Regions from separate parts of the Homo sapiens genome. Here region 1 is linked to region 2. The links are contacts of gene promoters, found by promoter capture Hi-C in human tissues and cell types (Jung and others, 2019). All regions are on one chromosome and are shown on one strand. Each heading gives the region's core, a stretch centred on a gene start or on the middle of the fragment in contact. The rest is flanking DNA. Distances are from core to core; before and after follow the strand shown. Region 1 overlaps SIPA1L3 (signal induced proliferation associated 1 like 3). Region 2 holds the start of KCNK6 (potassium two pore domain channel subfamily K member 6).

What was found. The method cuts DNA at HindIII sites, captures the fragments that hold promoters and counts their contacts. A contact is called where the count stands out against the background at its distance.
Region 1: a contact is called between a fragment that was not itself captured here and the fragment with the promoter of KCNK6 in region 2, in 1 of the 25 tissues and cell types used here (lymphoblastoid cells).

Annotation. Positions count from the first base shown.
Region 1 is chr19:37,952,012-37,956,855 of GRCh38, reverse strand. The region is part of intron 1 of SIPA1L3 (signal induced proliferation associated 1 like 3); the gene reads right to left. Among named protein-coding and RNA genes, the nearest start is that of SIPA1L3, 47 kb to the right of the region's middle. The HindIII fragment of the contact is 6,266 bases long and covers 1-4,844 here.
Region 2 is chr19:38,318,036-38,323,061 of GRCh38, reverse strand. KCNK6 (potassium two pore domain channel subfamily K member 6) reads right to left here and starts at 3,217. Exons shown (of 3, transcript NM_004823.3): 1 at 2,790-3,217. The coding sequence starts at 3,111. It also overlaps a transcript of YIF1B not described here. RefSeq lists a silencer at 3,035-3,124 and an enhancer at 2,766-3,389. The HindIII fragment of the contact is 11,421 bases long and covers 1-5,026 here.

The sequences.
Region 1 (4,844 bases), core at 995-3,494, 370 kb after region 2:
TAATACCAAAAGCACAATCCATAAAAGACTAATTGATAAACGGAATTTCCAAAATTAAAAACTTTTATATTAGGGTGGGCGTGGTGGCTCACACCTGTAATCCCAACACTTTGGGAGGCCAAGGTGGGCGGATCACTTGAGGTCAGGAGTTCAAGACCAGCCTGGCCAACATGGCGAAACCCCATCTCTACTAAAAATACAAAAATTAGCTGGGCATGGTGGCGTGTGCATGTAATCCCGGCTACTCAGGAGGCTGAGGCAGGAGAATTGCTTGAACCCGGGAGGCAGAGATTGCAGTGAGCCGAGATTGTGCCACTGCTCCAACCTGGGTGACAAGAGTGAGACTCAGTCTCAAAAAAAAAAAAAAACAAAACTTTTATACTTCCAAAGGCATGACTAAAAAAATAAAAATATTTTCTGGGAAAAAATATTTGCAAACTACATATCTGATGAGTGTTATCCAGAACATATCAAGAACTCTTACAACTCAATGAAATAACAAGATTAAGAAATAGGCAAACAATACAAATACATATTTCACCAAAGAAGATACACGAATGGCCAATAAGCACATAAAAAGATGATCAACAGCATTAGTCATCAGAGACATGCAAATCACAACTACAATGAGATACCACTGCACACCCACCAGGATGGCTGTAACAATAAGCGTTGGTGAGGATAAAGAAATACTGGACCCCAGCCAGGGGCGGTGGCACGCACCTGTGGTCCCAACTATTCAGGAGGCTGAAGCGGGAAAACAGCTTGAGCCCAGGAGTTTGATACTGTAGTGCGCCATGATCACGCCTGTGAATAGCCATTGTACTCCAGCCTGGACAACATCATGAGACCCTATCTATGAAAATGGCGCAGCCACTTTGGAAAACAATCTGGCAGTTTCTTAAAAACTTAAACAGAGTTACCAAATGACCCAGTAATTCCACTCCTGAGCAGAAATGAAAACATGTCCACACAAAGACCTGAACATAAATGTCTATAACAGCACTACTCATACTAGCCCAAACTGGAAACAATCCAAGTATCCATTAACGAATAATGGTAATGAAATTATCCATTCATGGTTAACGAATAAACAAAATGTGGTTTACCCATACAATAGAATATTATTCAGCAATAAGAACAAATGAACGACTGATATGAGCTATCACCTGGAGGAAGCGCAGAAACATTATGCTAAGTGACGGAAGCCTGGTACAGAAAAGACTACATACTGTATGACTGCATGTATTTGAAATGTTCAGGAAACGCAAATCTACAGAGACAAAGAGCAGGTTAGTGGTAGCCTGGGCCTAGGCGTGGAAGCAAGGACTGCCTGCAAAGAGGTACAAGATGGATATCTTTTGGGGTGGTGGTAATATTCTAAAACTGGATTGTGGTGATAGTTATGCAGCTTCACAAATTTACCAAAAACAGCTGAATTGCATACTCTTTTTTTTTTTTTTTGAGACAGAGTTTTGCTCTTGTTGCCCAGGCTGGAATGCAATGGTGCGATCTTGGCTCACGGCAACCTCCGCCTCCTAGGTTCAAGCGATTCTCCTGCCTCAGCCTCCTGAGTAGCGGGGATTACAGGCATGTGCCAACACACCTGGCTAATTTTGTATTTTTAGTAGAGACGGGGTTTCTCCATGTTGGTCAGGCTGGTCTCAAACTCTCGACCTCAGGTGATCTACCCACCTCGGCCTGCCAAAGTGCTAGGATTACAGGTGTGAGCCACCATGCCTGGCCTTTTTTTTTTTTTTTTTTTTTGAGAGACAGCATCTCACTCTGTCACCCAGGCTGGAGTGCAGTGGTGTGATCCCGGCTCACTGCAACCCCCGCCTCCTGTGTTCAAGCAATCCTCGTGCTTCAGCTACCCAAGTACCTGGGACTACAGGCATGCACCACAATGCCTGGCTAATTTTTGTATTTTTAGTAGAGACAGGGTTTCACCATGTTGTCCTTGCTGGTCTCGAACTCCTGGCCTCAAGAGATCTGCCTGCCTTGGCCTCCCAAAGTACTGGGATTACAGGCATAAGCCACTGCGCCCAGCCTGAATTGCATATTCTGAATGGGTGACTTTTATGGCACGTGTGTATATATACACACATACAGGCGGTGGTGGTGACAACTTCTGTAACCTAATCACCTCTGGACTTCCCACTCCATATGAAACCGCCTGGTTCTTAAAGCCGAGAGGCTTCACGCTTGGATGTGCTTATCACTAGGGGTTTACGGAAACTTAACAGATACAGGAGTATCTTGAAAACAGTGTTTTCAAGGGAAGCAATGTTCAGATCCTCAACATCCACAAGTTCCTCTTCCTAAAACTGATCTGGCTGCAAACCAGCCTGTCTCCTTCCCCACTGCCCACCCGCTGTTGTGCACTCCCCCATTTTCCCAAGGAGCACGACCGAGAGGTGTGTAAACCTCCAGGACTCCAAACACACAACATCAATATTGGTTTCGGGGAAGTAGCCTTTAGTGAACAATAAAAAGCTACTTAAACCCCCAGACTTGCCTGTCTTTCCCTGACTTAAGTATCTTTCTGCCAAACATGAAACTGGGCTTTAAAAATAGGATTTTCTGAACCATAGTAGGATCATGAATGTCAAAGCAGTATAGGTTAGTGGCTCTGATTTGTTCAAAGGGAACATTTTTCAGGACCACTGAATTTTTCTAGATCCACCAAGAAAAAATTCCCAGGGAAAAATTTACATGATTGCTTTCAGCTTCTGTGTACTTTACTCAATAAGGTAGTAAAAACTTTTTTTTATCTAACCACATCATAAAATATTTCAATTACATTCGACCTTCAAAATGTGTACTATTTTCTTCTCCCACAAATAAGACAAATTTAAAGTTACCATAAGCTTATTTTAGATGTTAGCTTTACAGTGTACAAGGAGGTATACAGGGGCTTATCAAAATTCTTTTGGGGAGGATGCAAGCAAAAATGTTTAACGATGATCAGATTAAATTTGAATAATCCTGGCTAACCCATGCCCTAATTCCTGGTGGCTGAGCTGTAGGAACTCAGCATGGGGCACAAATTCTGGGGAAAGCAAGATTTCAGACAATGGCAAAATCACACGTGCCTGGGGGTACAGCCAGCAGCGAGGAGTCAGTCAGGCCTCACAGCCCCTTCTTTCCCAGCTTTCAGGGGCCTCAAAAGCAAAGCTGCTCAAGGGAAGATTTGAAAAGGGATTTTCTGAACCGATAGGTCAATTCAAAAGATTTCCTTTCATTCGAGTAAAAGGGCTTTCGCCCCTCCTTCACCTCAAGTAAGTTTGGCACGCATGCACACACATACACACACACACACATGAGGAATGCATTCACCTTAAATTACCTTGAACTAAGTCAGTGATTACCCTCTTGAATATTTCCCACTATTAGCAAAATTCCTCCTAAGAGCAGACTTTGTTCCGAATTGGTCATGAACTCTATCCAGCTCTTTCCAAAGTTACCTGGGGAGGTACACACTGGGTCAACCATTATCCTAATAAAGTGCACAGATCTGACCAAATTCCTCCTGAAACATGATGCGATACGCCAGGTTTAGCGGCCAGTGTGCAAGGCTGGGTCATGGGCAGGAAAGGAATGTTTTTTTCCAAAGAGGAAAAAAACTGCAGACTTAAACTCTACTTTCATTCATTTGAGAAGGATCCTGGGCCCCCTCTATGGATAGGATTGTAAGCTGAGAATGCGGGTTCACGCCATTCTCCTGCCTCAGCCTCCTGAGTAGCTGGGACTACAGGCCTCCGCCACCACGCCTGGCTAATTGTTTTTGTATTTTTAGTACAGACGGAGTTTCACCATGTTAGCCAGGATCTCCCGACCTTGTAATCCACCCACCTCGGCCTCCCAAAGTGCTGGGATTACAGGCGTGAGCCACCGTGCCCGGCCAAGAATCCTCTGTGCATACACACACTCTGAAGTGTATGCAATCACCCAGGATGGTGTTCAAAATGCAGATACCCAGGCCTCAGGCCCCAAACCAGAATCTCCAGCAATGTGGAACAGAGCTGCTGTATTTTAACAAGTTCCCCAGGCCAGTCTGTTGATCACATAAAGCTAAGAACCGCCACTCAGGAAAGTCTAGCAAAGTGGTTCTCAAATATCTGATTCATACAAATCATTTCTGGAGAATTATTTATTTATTTTTATATTTTATTTTATTTTTGAGACAGAGTCTCACTCTGTTCCTCAGGCTGGAGTGCAATGGCACGATCTTGGCTCACTGCAACCTTCACCACCCGGGTTCAAGGAATTCTCCTGCCTCAGCCCCCTGAGTAGCTGGGATTACAGGTGCCTGCCACCACACCTGGCTAGTTTTTGCATTTTTAGTAAAGACAGGGTTTCACCATGTTGGCCAGGCTGGTTTTGAACTCCTGGCCTCAAGTGATCTACCCACCTCGGCATCCCAAAGTGCTAGGATTACAGGCATGAGCCACTGCGCCTGGCAGAGAATTTTTTAAATTTAAATATAGATTCTAGGGTCCACTAAAATTACTGTATTACTTAGGACTCTTTCGGTTGCAAGTGGCAGAGACCCAATTCAAACTGACTTGAGGGGAAAAAGGGCCAATGTTTTGGCTCCCATTACTGAGAAGTTCAGTTACCCAAAGAATTTGTCTGTAATGAATTATTTCCATCTCCTTTCCACTCGACCCTCTGAGCAAAGATGGTCCCCAGGCCCCCAGCAGCATTAAGCTTACACTCTACAACTTGGCACCTCCATAGGAAGAAAGCTCCTCTTCTTTCCTGGGAGCTCCAGAGAAAGACCTGTCTTAATTCTGATTGGACTGACTCACCTCCTCCCTTCCTTGAACCAATCCCTATGG
Region 2 (5,026 bases), core at 1,968-4,467:
GGCTCACTGCAACCTCCGCCTCCCAGGTTCAAGTGATCCTCCTGCCTCAGCCTCCCAAGTAGCTGGGATTACAGCCACGCACTATCATGCCTGGCTAATTTTTGTATTTTTAGTAGAGATGGGGTTTCGTCATGTTGGCCAGGCTGGTCTCGAACTCCTAACCTCAGGTGATCCGCCCGCCTCAGCCTCCCAAAGTGCTGGGATTCCAGGCGTGAGCCAACTTGCCCGGCCTGTTTTTTGTTTTTTTGAGATGGAGTCTCACTCTGTTGCCCTGGCTGGAGTGCAGTGGCACAATCTCAGCTTATTGCAACCTCTGCCTCCCAGGTTCAAGTGATTCTCCTGCCTCAGCCTCCCGAGTAGCTGGAATTACAGGTGCCTGCCACAATGCTCGGTTGATTTTTGTATTTTTAGTAGACGGGGTTTCACCATGTTGGTCAGGCTGGTCTCGAACTCCTAACCTCAGGTGATCTGCCCACCTCGGCCCTCCAAAGTGCTGGGATTATAGGCGTAAGCCACTGCGCCTGGCCCTCATCCACCCCCTCTCAATATCTAAGTCCTTGGCCTGTCTTTAGCAAGAATCTTGTTAAGCTGAGTTTAGCAAGAATCCCCCTACCCGAATGTCTCTCCTCTTAGTATTCTTCCATCCACTGACTCCCTTATTCTACTTGTTAGCCATAAAACTCCAGCTGTGTTTGCTATATTCACAGTTGAGTTCAGTCTCTCTGGCCTTTGCAATGGTCTCTCCTCTACCACAATAACTTTCCATTTTTAACAAGTGTTAGCATATTTTTTTCTTTTACAACACACACAGCACCCTTCTTCTAAGTAGTGTGGTGTGTTGGCTAGCAGCATGGGACTCTAGAGCCTGATGGCCTTGACTAAATCTCTACTCTATGCCGTCTTTGCTGTGTGACCTTAGGAAAGTTACCCAACTTCTCTAGGCTTCGGTTTCCATGGCTAAAAATATACAGCCTATAAAGGCGCCTGCCTCACAAGGCTGTTGTGATGATTAAGTGAGTTAAAGCATGCATTGGCAAGTCCTCTGTCAGGCTACTGCTATTACAGGGAAATGGGGAGTGTTATTATCTCCATTTTAGCAATGGGGGAGGACACTGAGGCCTGGCAATGAGCCGCGGCTGAGCAGGGATGTAGCCAGGCTGTGCCTGACGTGTGTCTGGCTTCCCTCATCTGCCCTGCCAGGGATGACTTCTTAGAAGCCAGGATCTGGGAAGAGGTAGGAGGCGTGCACATGACCCAGGGAAGCTCAGAAGCAGGTCAGGCCGCCCTGGCAGCATGGGCAGACCCAGGGGAGGTCAGCTAACGAGAAGTCACCCAGCTCTGCTGCCAGGGGACCAAAAGCAAAAGCTGCCCCCTATTGTTGGCCGGGAGGGCGAGTTAGGAGTCTGGGCTAACCCTGCACCAGCCTCCTCTCCTCAACAAATCCCCAACAAAGAAACAAAGAGGAAGTCTGGGAGCTGAGAAGGGGCTGGGGGAGCAGCAGAGCCTGGCAACAAAGAGATTTCCCAAGTCTGGCTTCTCAGGGTTTCCCAAAACTCGGGGTCCCTCCACGGTGGGTCCTTTTGACACATCCCTAGCTGGGGCTGCTGAATTGGGAGTCCCAGGTCCAGAGGGAACAGGTGGTGTCCCTATTGGGAGGAAAATCCTGCATTGAGAGTGACCCCATATAGGGGAGATGTCAAGATGGGGTGGGGTACCTAGGGAAGGGTTTTGTGTCTGGGGTCAGAGTTGCCTGCTGGGGAGTATGGGGCCAGGAGACAGATGACAGTCTGGAGCAGAGGCCCAGGTCCAGAGGGCCAGGAGTCCCAGATGGCGGTGCCAGGTCCTTGCTGAGGAATCTCTGTTGGGAGGGAGGTCTTTAGTGAGGACACCCTGAGAGGTCTGGAGATTTAGGGTCCTCGCTAAGGCGCCAGGGTCAGGAGGAGGTTGAGATGGGGTTTCTCCAGGGGGGTTTCCCAGAAGGACATATCTGGAGGGTCAGGAGACATGGCAAGGGTGGCAGGCCCAGACTAGAGATAAAGTCAGGGGTCCTGGCATGGTTGAGTTCTGGGTCCAGAGGGGGCAAGGATCTCCCTTGGAGGGTGGCGTGTCCTGGGTCCTTGCTGGAGGTCTCTGAGGACAGTCCTAGGCTTAGAGGGGGCTGGACAGACCCGGGTCACCAAGAGGATTAAGACCGGGGAATGCAGTCCCAGTGCAGTGGCTCAAGCCTGTAATGCCAGCAATTTGGGAGGGCGAGGCGGGCTGATCACCTGAAGTCAGGAGTTTGGGACCAGCCTGGCCAACATGGTGAAACTCCGTCTCCACTGAAAATACAAAAATTAGCCAGGCATGGTGGTATGTGCCTGTAATCCCAGCTACTCGGCAGGCTGAAGCAGGAGAATAGCTTGAAACCGGGAGGCGGAGGCTGCCGTGATCCGAGATCGTGCCACTGCACTCCAGCCTGGGCGACAGAGTAAGCCCTGTCTCAAAAAAAGAAAAAGAAAAGAAAAAAAAAAAAGACCGAGGAACGGGGTCCCAGCTGGTCTCTGCAAAGGTACTCTGAGGGGAGCTGGGTGTTTCCTACTTAGGAGGAAGGGCTCGGACTTGGGCTCCCCGAGCAGAGCAGATATCATGAGCCTGGGTCCCGGGTCCTCACTGGGGTCTTTTCGGGGGATCCGAAGCCCAGAGGGGATTGGGATAAGGGTATTCGTGAGGGCCCCGGGGTCCCCAGGGGTTAAGGATGAAGTGGGGATCCCGGGTCCTCGCCGCCTTGCGGTGAGGCGCTTACGTACCCACGGTGGTGATCAGCGTGCTGGCGAAGAAGAGAGCAGAGGCGAAGTCCCAGGCGGGGTCCGAGGCGTTGGCGGACCCCGAAGCGTTAGCAAGCACGACCCGCCCCAGCCGTCCGGCCGCCAGCACTCGCTCCACGAAGGCGTCCAGGGCGGGGGCAGCCACACACGGGCTGCGCTGAAGCAGCTGCGCCCGCAGCGTCTCCAGCTCGGCTCGGAGCCTGGCTTCGTGCGGCCCCTCCAGCCGCGCCACCAACAGCGCGCCCAGCACCAGGTACGCGGCGTACGCGGCCAAGGCGCCCGCCAGAAGCGCGCCCCTCCGCATGGCACCCACCGGGACCCCGCGAGCCCTGGGTGGCCCCGCTGACGTGGCCCCCGCCTCCGGACCGTCTGGCACCTAGTTCCAGTTCCGGGAGTGCTACAGGCGCGGCAGCAGATGCCCCAAGAGGAAGAGGAAAAAGGGGAGGTGGGGGGCGGCGACGGAGGAATGCCCCGCCTCCGGGAAACTGAGGCACGCCCAACCGCCAGGTGTTCGTTCGGAGAGGGTGGAGCCCAGTGCTCCCAGACCCAGCAGACCAACGGGATGGAAAGGGTGGAGGTAGTCCTCTCTTCCCCTCATTCCTTCCTTCTCGTCCTCCTGGAAGGCTGGTTCTCTATGTTAGAAGAATCTGAACTTTCCTCTCTGCTCGCAGGCCGAGGAGTCGCCCCCCATCGCGCACAGCAGCTAAGGTTGTGCACTGCATCAGGGCGCGCGGCTGACGGAGCAAGGGGCAAACTGAAATCCAATTCTCGCTCCATTCGCCAAGTTGTGAGCCTCGGAGTGGGAACAGCGGACACCACAGAGTCAGGTGTCCCCTGTGCCCGTGTGGACAGAGTGGGGATCCTCAGCTACTCACCAAAGCTTTGTTCAATGCCCACTTTCTGCTGACCCCTCGCTGGATGATCCTGGAGACTCAGTAATGATGAGACCATCCTGCGCCATGCATTCATGGGGCTCCCAGTCTAACTGGGAGACTGACACAAGAGTGACCCACGCCTGTTGTCCCAGCTACTCGGGAGGCTGAGGTCGGAGGATTGCTTGAGCCCAGGAGTTCGAGGCTGCAGTGAGCTATGCCTGGGAGAGAGTGAGACCCTATCTCTAAAAAAAAGAAAAAAGACAGCCCAGAGTGGTCAGGGCTGTGATGAGGGAAGCAAGGGTACAATGATCAAGCCTGGAATCAGGGAGCCCTAGAGGGCCCTGGGAGTCCAGAGGAAGCAACCACCCCTGCCTAGGGAGGTCAAGAGAGCTTCCTGAGGAAGGGGCTAGCTGAGCTGAAGCATGAAGGATGAATGGAAACAAGCCAGGCAGAATCACAAATACACGCCTCTATTTAAGAGGAAATTTTTCTTTCTGCGCCCCCCCGTAAGTCTCTCCACTTCTGCCTCCAGCCAGAACTCAGCGCCTTCCTGACAGCCTTTTGGAGGGCAGCCCAGAGTCCTAACCCCATCCGACTGGCAGAGGAGTGGGGCTTGGGGCTCAGCTCAGACATGTCCCAGCTGGTTCTATTAAAGAGCTGGCAGATCACCGGGCAGAGCCCAACTTGGGGTTGACAATCCAGAAGCAGAGGCACCTGATAATAGAATCAGTAACACAATAGGTGCCAGTGATCGAAGGCTTACATTCTGCCAGGCCCTGTGGACACCTGAACTTGCACTGAATTCTCAACCCCGTCCCAATATAATTCCCACTAAACAGATGAGAAAATTTAGGCTTAAAAATGAAGTAGTCATTTGAGACCAGCTCGGGCAACATGGCAAAACCCCATCTCGACAAAAAATACAAAAATTAGCCAAGTGTGGTGGCATGCGTCTGTAGTCCCAGCTACTCGGGAGGCTGAGGCAGGAGGATCGTTTGAGCTCAGGAATTAGAGACTGCAATGAGTTATGGTCGCACCACTGCACTCCAGTATGGGTGATAGAGTAGACCCTGCCTCAAAAAAATAAAAAGTAGTAGTCACACAACTGGTAAGGGGTGAACATGAGGCCAGCAGGAAGCCAATGAACTAATGAACTTGCTTTTTTTTTTTTTTTTTTTTTTTTTTTGAGACAAGAGTCTCGCTCTGTCTCCCAGGCTGGAGTGCAATGGCACAATCTCGGCTCGCTGCAACCTCTGCCTCCTGGGTTCAAGCAATTCTCCTGCCTCAGCCTCCTAAGTAGCTGGAATTATAGATGCCCGCCACAACACCCAGCTAATTTTTGTA